Regions from separate parts of the Homo sapiens genome. Here all the other regions are linked to region 3. The links are contacts of gene promoters, found by promoter capture Hi-C in human tissues and cell types (Jung and others, 2019). All regions are on one chromosome and are shown on one strand. Each heading gives the region's core, a stretch centred on a gene start or on the middle of the fragment in contact. The rest is flanking DNA. Distances are from core to core; before and after follow the strand shown. Region 1 holds the start of UTS2R (urotensin 2 receptor). Region 2 has its middle 3.5 kb from the start of SECTM1. Region 3 holds the start of NARF (nuclear prelamin A recognition factor).

What was found. Contacts are between HindIII fragments. The study calls those that stand out against the background at their distance.
Region 1: a contact is called between the fragment with the promoter of UTS2R here and the fragment with the promoter of NARF in region 3, in 2 of the 25 tissues and cell types used here (lymphoblastoid cells and stomach).
Region 2: a fragment that was not itself captured here is called in contact with the fragment with the promoter of NARF in region 3 in 3 of the 25 tissues and cell types used here (IMR-90 fibroblasts, dorsolateral prefrontal cortex and lymphoblastoid cells).

Annotation. Positions count from the first base shown.
Region 1 is chr17:82,369,791-82,373,057 of GRCh38, reverse strand. UTS2R (urotensin 2 receptor) reads right to left here and starts at 1,293. Exons shown (of 3, transcript NM_018949.3): 1 at 1,011-1,293; 2 at 275-460. The HindIII fragment of the contact is 34,629 bases long and covers 1-3,267 here.
Region 2 is chr17:82,335,734-82,338,849 of GRCh38, reverse strand. No RefSeq gene overlaps it. Among named protein-coding and RNA genes, the nearest start is that of SECTM1, 3.5 kb to the right of the region's middle. The HindIII fragment of the contact is 4,127 bases long and covers 1-3,116 here.
Region 3 is chr17:82,457,474-82,460,412 of GRCh38, reverse strand. NARF (nuclear prelamin A recognition factor) reads right to left here and starts at 1,672. Exons shown (of 11, transcript NM_012336.4): 1 at 1,583-1,672; 2 at 341-421. The coding sequence starts at 1,609. It overlaps NARF-AS2 (NARF antisense RNA 2), which reads left to right and starts at 1,894. Exons shown (of 3, transcript NR_184099.1): 1 at 1,894-2,740; 2 at 2,865-2,939. RefSeq lists enhancers at 918-1,750, 2,184-2,333 and a silencer at 1,334-2,153. The HindIII fragment of the contact is 15,922 bases long and covers 1-2,939 here.

The DNA.
Region 1 (3,267 bases), core at 44-2,543, 87 kb after region 3:
GTGACCGGGGACTTCCTGAAAAGGACACCCACGCAGCCAACAAGCAGGGAAATGCCAGTCAGGGCCACAGGAGCCCCTGCGTGCTGACAAGGATGAACGCGTGAAAAGGCAGATATCCTTGTCAACAGGCGTGGGGGCTGTGGAGGAGCTGGCCCTGCCGTTTCCTGTTGCTGGGAACCTGGACTGTGCCGCCGCTTTGGAAAGCCATTGGCACGATTTGCAGAGTTGACCGCCTATACCTTCTCACCCGGCAATTCTACTCTCAGGTTAGTACCTTAGATAAAGGGCTGCCAACGTTCAGAAAATGACAAGCGTGCGAAAGTTCACGGCAGCTTGACTCCTAAGAAGCTGGAAACAGCTCAAATGTCCCCAGTGGACGGGGCAGGCAAACTGTGACATGAAGCCAGTGAAGGAGTCGCCGCTGGGGTCAGCAGCCTGGATGAAACAGCGCGGTGGTGGGCTGAAGAAACAAGACACAGGAGGCTGCCTGATTCCACGAGCCACGCTGAATTTAGGCCGAACACTCATGGCTGCGCAGGGAGCAGTCTTGGCTGGGGTGGGGAGTTGTCAACAGGTGGGGGCGCTGGGGGCCTTCCAGGGCCTGGAAATGTGCCCTGTCCGCCCTTTCCCACCAGGCCGAGCAGCTCCCAGCTCCATCTGTCCAGGGGACCCTCACCCCCTTGCTGCCCCCACCCAGGGCATTTCCAGAGCCCTCACCCAGGGGACGGCGCAGAAGCCGAGGGTGCACCGGGCTCCCCAGTTGTGCGCGAGCCCGAGTCACGGGCAGGGGGACAGCGGCCGCCGGGCCGCTAGGATTGCTCCAGGGTCGCTAGGGGGGAAGGGGAGGGGCCGAAAGTTCCACGGCACGGGAGAAGCCGCCTCGCTGGACCCCGCTCCCCTCGCCCAGGGTGGGTTCCCACCGCGAAACCCCGGCCCAGCCCTGCGGAGGGCCCCGAAGGGCACAGACCCGGCAGTCCCCGCGCGCTCCCGGTCACCCACCGAGGACCCACCTGCCTCCGGTCACTGAGCGGCCAGACCTGCCCGCCGAGCCTGGGGTCGCGCGTGGGGGCAGCCGCTCGCGGCTCCAAACTCCTCGCGCAGCGGGGCCGCGGGGAACTTTCCGAGGCGCGCTCCCCTGTCCCAGCGCAGAGGGGGCGCGAGGGGCTCCGCGGTGGCCTCGGCTTCCAGAGCACACGGCAGGGGCGCCCGCCAGTCCCGCCACCAAAGCCGCGCCCCCCGCCCCGCGCCGGGTCTCTGCGCCGCCGCCACCTGCCCGCCGCCAGCTGGGAATGCGCCGCGCCCCGCGCCAGGGCCCGGTATTAAAATAACCCCAGCGGGCAGCAGGCGCGCGGAGGGGACGGCGCCGGGTGTCTAGGGGGCGGCGCTGACCGCGCGGCGCCGGGAAGACGCGGGGGTCGCGGGGCCGCAGCGGGGTCGGCGGAGGGTCCCAGGCGGGTCTCGCGTCTGCGTCTGCGGAGCGAAGCTGCCTCCAGCCCGGCTGCCCCAAGGCTGACCCCGCAGCCCCTCTTGGGTTCTCCGCCTCCAGCGTTCACCCCTGCGCCCCTCACGCCCGTGTTTGCAGGGCACGGAGCCTGGGATTCTCCGTGTCCACCAAGCCCTGGACCCGCCCGCGCGCAGGTGGGGGGCAGGAACACCCCTAAACCCCGAGAGGGTCATAGAAAGGAGGTAAGGGAGGGAGGGAGTCACCCGCCCAGGCGGGGACGGGCTCTTTGGGGGCCTTGACCCCGCCCCTGTTGCGGGTCTCCCACAGATGCTCTTAGAAGCCCACGCAGCCTCTCCAGGCCTCGGCAGGGACTCGTGGTGGCCACATCCACGGAAGTGACGCTGGGAGCTGCAGGGCCCCGCGGGGTAGGAGGAAGGACCCCACAGCCTCACCCTCGAGCCCCTGAGCTGGGTGCTGGCCCCCACTCGGTTTCACTTGCTGCTCGGAGGTAGGATGTGGGCCTTCACTCATGCTGAACCCCTGAAAGAAAAAGACACAGAACATTAATAAATTAGACTAGAGGAGAGCTGGAGAGCTGTGAACACGGGGTCTAAAGGGCCCCCAGCGAGGAGCTGGCCTCGCCCACTCCACTCCGCCCGGGGCTCATCTGCTGCCTGAGGCCGCGGACCGGCCCCTAAAGCTGAAGGGGTTCTGCTGGGGGAGAGGAGGTGGCCAAGTGTGAATGGCCGAGAGGCTCCTGCAATCAGCTGGATCCGGGGGAGCCCCAGATGCCCACCAGTCCCCTCCGTGGGACGTTTGCCACGTGCTGGGGAGGCGAGGCTGGGCTGGAGAGGGCGGGAAAAGTCCCTCTGGTCTCCGAGCGTCCGCTGGACGGAGCAAGGGTCACACAATAAGACAGTTCATTCTCTGTGAGCTGAAAACAGCCGAACTGAAACCAAATACAGCTGCAGCTTCCGACCCGAAAGGGGAGCAGCTCATCCTGCCTGTGCGCGGGAGGAAAGGGGGTGGAAGGCTGCCTCCGACGTGATGGTTCTGTGAGAGCTGATTACTAAGCTGGAGTCTAGGGGCTAGGGCTGGGGAAAAGCACTCAGGACCCAGAATGCCTGCTCCAAGAATTAAATTTCCCGCAAGCCAGCTGCCGAAACGATCTGCTGTCACCTCAGCCAGTTCACCGAGTAGCTGCTGAAACGACCTGCCCTGACACGAACACCGGGTTTTTTATTTTTTATTTTATTTTTTTATTATTTATTTATTTATTTTTTTGAGATGGGGTCTCACTCTTTCACCCGGGCTGGAGTGCAGTGGTGCGATCTCGGCTCACTGCAACCTCGGCTCACTGCAACCTCCACCTCCCAGGCTCAAGCAATTCTCCTGCCTCAGCCTCCCAAGTAGCTGGGATTACAGGCACCCGCCACCACACCCAGCTAATTTTTGTGTTTGTAGTAGACGGGGTTTCATCATGTTGGCCGGGTAGGTCTCGAACTCCTGAGCTCAGGTGATCTGCCCACCTCAGCCTCCCAAAGTGCTAGGATTACAGGCGTGAGCCACCGTGCCTGGCCTCCAGTGCTGGTTTTACCACTGAGGCCACTCGCCTGAGCTTGCCAGCTCCCCCGAACTACCAGTGCCAACGGGCTTTCTTTCAAAGCAATAGATAACGTTTCTCTTTCCAAAAGAATCCCGATTTTCTTTTGTTCTTGAACATACCGAATTGAAATTCTTCCTAAAATTAAACATTAAACTTAAAGATTTGTCTGTATATTTGGACTTTGACAGTTGCTATGTATAAAATGCTTCAGCAAGGA
Region 2 (3,116 bases), core at 120-2,619, 120 kb after region 3:
TTGCTTTCTGTGGCTCATTCTAACAGCTGCTTTCTTGCTTTTCTGCAAGATTACTGTTTGATATTTCTCATTTCTCCTATGACCACCCAGCATTCCTATCTCATTGGCTAGGAAGGATTACTATTAAAAGTATTTTCTCTTTCTCTCTTTCTCTCTCTCTCTCTCTCTCTTTGAGGCAGGGTCTCGCTCTGTTGCTCAGGCTACAGTGCAGTGGCCTGATCTCGGTTCAATGCAGCCTCGACCTCCCAGGCTCAAGAGATCCTCCTACCTCAGCCTCCCAAGTAGCTGGGGCTACAGGCACTGGCCACCACGCCCGGCTCATTATTTTATTTTTGTGAAGATGGGTCTCACTGTGTTGTCCAAGCTGGTCTCAAATTCCTGGCCTCAAGAGATTGTCTCACTTCAGCCTCCCAGAGTGCTAGGATTACAGGCATGAGCCATCGCACCCAGCCCTAAAAATGCCATTCTTTCTAAAATTAAGCTATAACAGCTGGGCACGGTGGCTCACGCCTGTAATCCCAGCACTTTGGGAGGCCAAGGTGGGTAGATTATGAGGTCAGGAGTTAGAGACCAGCCTGGCCAACACGGCAAAACCCCGTCTCTACTAAAAATACAAAAATTAGCCAGGTGCACGCCTCTAATCTCAGCTACTAGGGAGATTGAGGCAGGAGAATTACTTGAACCCGGGTGGTGGAGGTTGCGTGAGGTGAGATCGTGCCATTGCACTCCAGCCTGGGCAACATAGTGAGACTCCATCCCCCCCAAATAAATAAATAAATAGAATTAAAATAAAGTGAAGCTATAAAGACAGTGAAATCCCAAAAGAAATACCAAGAAGATTGGCAAGTGAAGGGGCTCAGGGCAACATAACTGGATGTTCGAGGAGCACAGCCTTTTCAGGTGGAAAATAACAAGCTGGGTTGTGGATTCCACCAAAAGCAGAAACACATGCTGGGTAAGAATTTAAAATTAGCCTCATATTTTAAAACTTCCGAATATTATAAAATAGATAAATTAGAATTAGGTTAGCACAAGACAAGAACAAGAGCAACAAAACGACAAAGACTGAAGCAAACATTTTAGACTTTTTATCTGTGGTGCCTGCCTGTGGTGCCAGCTACTCAGAAAGCTGAGGCTGGAGGATCGCTTGAGCCCAGAAGGTCAGGGTACATTGAGCTACGATCCTGCCAGTGAACAGCCACTGCAAGCCAGCCTGGTCAACTACAGGAGACCCCATCTCTTAAAAAAAAAAAGCCTCCAAATATATGATTAAAAATTCCTAGAACCACAAGAAGAGGCTGCTAAGCCCCCACCATAGGAGGCCATTCCAACCTATCTCTCTTAATTACTGATAGCTCAAGCCCATACAAATTGACAAGTATATAAAAATACAAAAAATTAGCTGGGCGTGGTGGCGGGCGCCTGTAGTCCCAGCTGCTGGGGAGGCTGAGGCAGGAGAATGGCGTGAACCCGAGAGGCGGAGCTTGCAGTGAGCTGAGATCGTGCCACTGCACTCCAGCCTGGGCGACAGAGCGAGACTCCGTCTTAAAAAAAAAAAATTGACAAGTATATAAAAGACCTAACCTACCCCACTGACACCTTGACAGGAGGGACACCTGCAGAGACCCTTGCTCCCAACAGTCAGAGAATATTACATGTTGGAAGGACCCGTGAGACCCTTCCAGCCAGTGAGCAGTGGGTACAACTGAGTCATGCACAAATCTGTGGGGCCGGTTGGCTCGGCTCCCAGGAGGCTGCGAGTCTGTCCACGGGCCGAGGGCTTTGGGGGGCGGCCCCCAGGTGGCCGGGGGTGCGCGGGCAGAGTGAGCAGGACAGTGGGAGGGTCAGAGGCCCTTTCATAAAAGTGCGCAGAGCAGAGGAGCGATCCCCCTAGCTCCCCCACAGAGGGTGCTGCACCTGCGGCCCCTGCGGAGGTACTGGCTTGGCCAGCCCGGGAGGAGGGGCCCAGCCTGTTGGGACAGGAGATGGGGTGCAGGTGGAAGGCTCCAAGAGGCATCTGGGCTGGTAACGCGCAGACATCCCAGGTGGGTTGGAAGTGGGTCAAGGAGGCCTGGAGGACCCGGTGCCTGTGGGGGTGGCAGGCGGGCCACATCCTCCACTAGAACCCGAGGTGGCGGCGGGGTCAAGGATGACGAGTTATCTTCGGGACATTAGGAGGAAGCCCCACAGGCTGCAGTCACGTGGGTGGGCAAGGATGAAAGGCAAGGGAACCCAGAGAATCAAGTTACAAAGAAAAGCAAATGCCGCCAGCACAGTGGCTCACGCCTGTAATCCCAGCACTTTGGGAGGCCGAGGCGGGTGGATTGCCTGAGCTCAGGAGTTCAAGAAAAAAAAAGCCTGGCTAACATAGTGAAACCCGTCTCTACCAAAAATAAAATAAATAAATAAATAAAAGCTGGGCGTGGCGGCACGTGCCTGTAGTTCCAGCTACTCAGGAGGCTGAGGTAGGAGAATCGCTTGAACTAGGGAGGCGGAGGTTGCAGTGAGCCGAAATCGCACCACTGCACTCCAGCCTGGGCGACAGAGCAAGACTCTGTCTCCAAAAAAAAGAAAAGCAAATGCTCCAGGACCTTGGGGATTTTAAGAATATGCTGCCGAATAATTTGGAGAGTTAAACAGAAAATCATAACTGAAATCTACAAATTCCTCGAACAGAAAGGAAATGAAACTCCACATGTCACCTGGCACAGCAGAGGCTGTGATTCAAGGACAGGCTGAGGGTGAATGAATCCACACATCCGCTCTAAGATGCCTGATCCCAGCATTGTATAGAAATGGAAAGATACGGCCGGGTGCAGTGGCTCACGCCTGTAATCCAGCACTTTGGGAGGCCAAGATGGGCGGATCACAAGGTCAGGAGATCCAGACCATCCTGGCTAACACGGTGAAACCCCGTCTCTACTAAAAATACAGAAAAATTAGCTGGGCGTGGTGGCGGGCGCCTGTAGTCCCAGCTACTCAGGAGGCTGAGGCAGGAGAATGGTGTGAACCCAGGAGGCAGAGCTTGCAGTGAGCCGAGATTGCGCCACTGCACTCCAGCCTGGGCGACAGAGCGAGACTCCGTCTCAAAACAAAAAAAAGAAATGGAAAGATAC
Region 3 (2,939 bases), core at 423-2,922:
GCTCACTGCAACCTCTGTCTTCCAGGGTCAAGCAATTCTCCTGCCTCAGCCTCCTGAGTAGCTGGGATTACAGGCGTACACCACCATACCTGGATAATTTTTGTATTTTTAGCAGAGATAAGGTTTCACCATGTTGGCCAGGCTGGTCTCAAACTCCTGACCTCAAGTGATCCGTCCACCTCGGCCTCCCAAAGTGCTGGGATTCCAGGCGTGAGCCACCATGCCCGCGTACTTCAGTCTTCTTTAAAGCAGTGATGTGCACGGTGCTGTGAGCCCCCAAAGAGAAAAACAGCAGCAGTAGTTTACTCTGGGCTGATACAAAACTGAAAAATCTACTTGCCTCTCCATTTTCCTGGGCTGGACTCGGTGCATCGGCTGACACATTCTCTTGGTCATCAGTTTTTGTTTTCTTACTACATTCCTTAAAAAAGCAAAGGAACATTATCAATGAACTTTTACTTCGTCTCCCTTAAGAAAATGTGCACATTCTGACCAATGAAGCTCATGTATTTCTATCCTTTCTTTTAGTTTATTTATTTATTTTTTTAGACGGAGTCTCGCTCTCACCCAGGCTGGAGTGCAGGGGCGCAATCTCGGCTCACTGCAGCCTCCACCTCCCGGGTTCAAGCGATTCTCCTGCCTCGGCCTTCTGAGTAGCTGGGATTACAGGTGTGCGCCACCACACCCAGCTAATTTTATATTTTTAGTAGAGACTGGGTTTCGCCATGTTGGCCACGATGGTCTTGAACTGCTGACCTCAGGTGATCCACCCGCCTCGGCCTCCCCTCCCAAGGTGCTGGGATAACAGGCTTGAGCCACCGTGCCTGGCCTTCTATCCTTCTAACCCTTCTAGTGAAACAGGTACTGAAGGACACACACACATCTCTATTGTTTACAATAATAAAAAAGCAGAAGCAACTGTAGCCTTCACCCCACAGGCGAATTCCCCTGGACACAGGTGTACTTAGAATAGGACGCAGCCACCACCGGGGATGAACGACCCATGGAATGTTAGGAAGCCTCCTGCCACGGCGTCACGCGCAGAAGTGCCAGCCACAGAGCAGCATCCACAGGAGCCCATTCCGGCAATAACAGCTACAAAACCCCCCTGCGTGCGCTGCGCGGTTGTTGCCATGGCCTGGAGACAACCGCGGAAGGCGCCGGTCAGCAGCCGTCACCCGCTTCCGCCCCTGCACCGGCTGCTCGGTGACCCTCAGAGGGGCAGGTTCGAAAACGCCTAAAACCCTCTCGAAACGCTTCTGATCATTCCCGCCACGACCGCTGTTTACTCGGACTGTGGTGCGCGGCACGAGAGGCTCGGTCTCCGTGCGTTTCCGCGCTTCGCGGGCGTGGGAAAGATGGACAAGTTCAGGGAGAACCGCGAAGACCGAACCCGCCCTGCAGAGCGCAGCGGACCCCGCGCCGGCCGCCTCCACGCCGAGCGGGCCCAGGGTGCCGAGGCCGGGGGCGCCTTGAAGAGCCCTGAAGCGAGCGAGCGGCGGGCCCGGACCGCCAACCTCGGCCGCCCAGAGCCCCACAGGACAAGCACCAGGCGCGCGCCTCCCCGGCCCGCGGCGCTCACCTTGCGCGTGCAGTGCTCACACTTCATCTGGAGCGCGGCGGGCGGGAGGCCGGGCGCCTCAGCCTCAGGGAAGCACCGGGAGACTGGGACACCACTGCCCGCCGCCCGCGGCCCTTTGTTGTCCTCCCCCGACGCGGCCTCACCCCCAACGGCCGCGCTCGGCCAATGAGAGCACCGGGAGAGGACAAGCCGCACCCCTGGGCCAATAGGATTCCCCACCCTTACGGCTTTGCCTAGGCCAATGACAGTGTCGGGAAGGGGCGGGCCAGGCCCCAGAGCCAATCGGAGCGCGCGGGGCGGACCGCAGGCTCACTCCACGTACGGCGCCGGGGGGACCGGGTCCTTGCGCCGGTTTCCGCTTCTCGTGGGTCCTGCGGCGGCGGCGGCGGCCAAGCGGCGTTCACCAGGGAGTCGGTGAGCGCGCGGACTGTCCCGAGGCCAAGCTGGGGCCGTTCCAGGGTGCTCGGTCCGGTGGTCACGGGGCCTGGAGGCCCCTGGGCCCGCGGAGGCCGCGGCCGGGCTCTGTCAGCCAGCTCGGCGTTGGACACTCGCCTTACTCGCGGCTCCTAACGGGGCGGGCCGGGGGCACAGCCCTCGTCCGCCGCCATTGCCACTTGACGTCGTGTCACGTAGGCTCGGCGGAGTAGCAGCGCGCATGCGCGGCCTGCCTGTCAGTAACCACGTGATGGACCCGGAAGCCCGAGGGCAGATGCTAAATGATGGCCATTTGACATTTGCGTGTGTTCACTATGGATAGTTTTACCAAGTACATTGATTTGGGCCCTTACAGCTTACAAAGTAAAGATAACACTTACTCCTCCAAGAAATTGATTTCAGCTAAGCAAAACATTGATACAGGGCTATAATGGAAGTGTTGGACTCATAAACGTTTTATGAAATCAGTGTGTGTGTATTACAGAAATCAGAAATGAGAAGTAAGAACATGTCTGGGAGAGTGTGACATAAGAAAAATAACTTGTAGGCGTATTTAACAGACAGCAGCAGTTCTCAGGATTCCCCATGTTAGAGCCTTCCTTCCTGTCCTCTGAGAAATGAAAATGAAATCCAAAGACCCCCAACTGACTACACGAACCCCCTACTGGCTAAGGAGATCCCAGGGTTGCCTTGAAGGCAGTTCTCAGCCATGACAGATGGGAGGTGAGACACCTGTTATTAAGGCCAACCCTTGGCTAACTACCATTAGGTTTTCTTGGCTAAGAGCTTAACGGAAACCAGCGCTTTCGAAAGACTCCACCGCTGATAACAACTCTCTCATTTGCAGTTTCGGCCCAATTGACCAGTATTCCTTACTGATAAGAGACACTGACCATGGAGTGGTTCTGGTGAGATGACATGA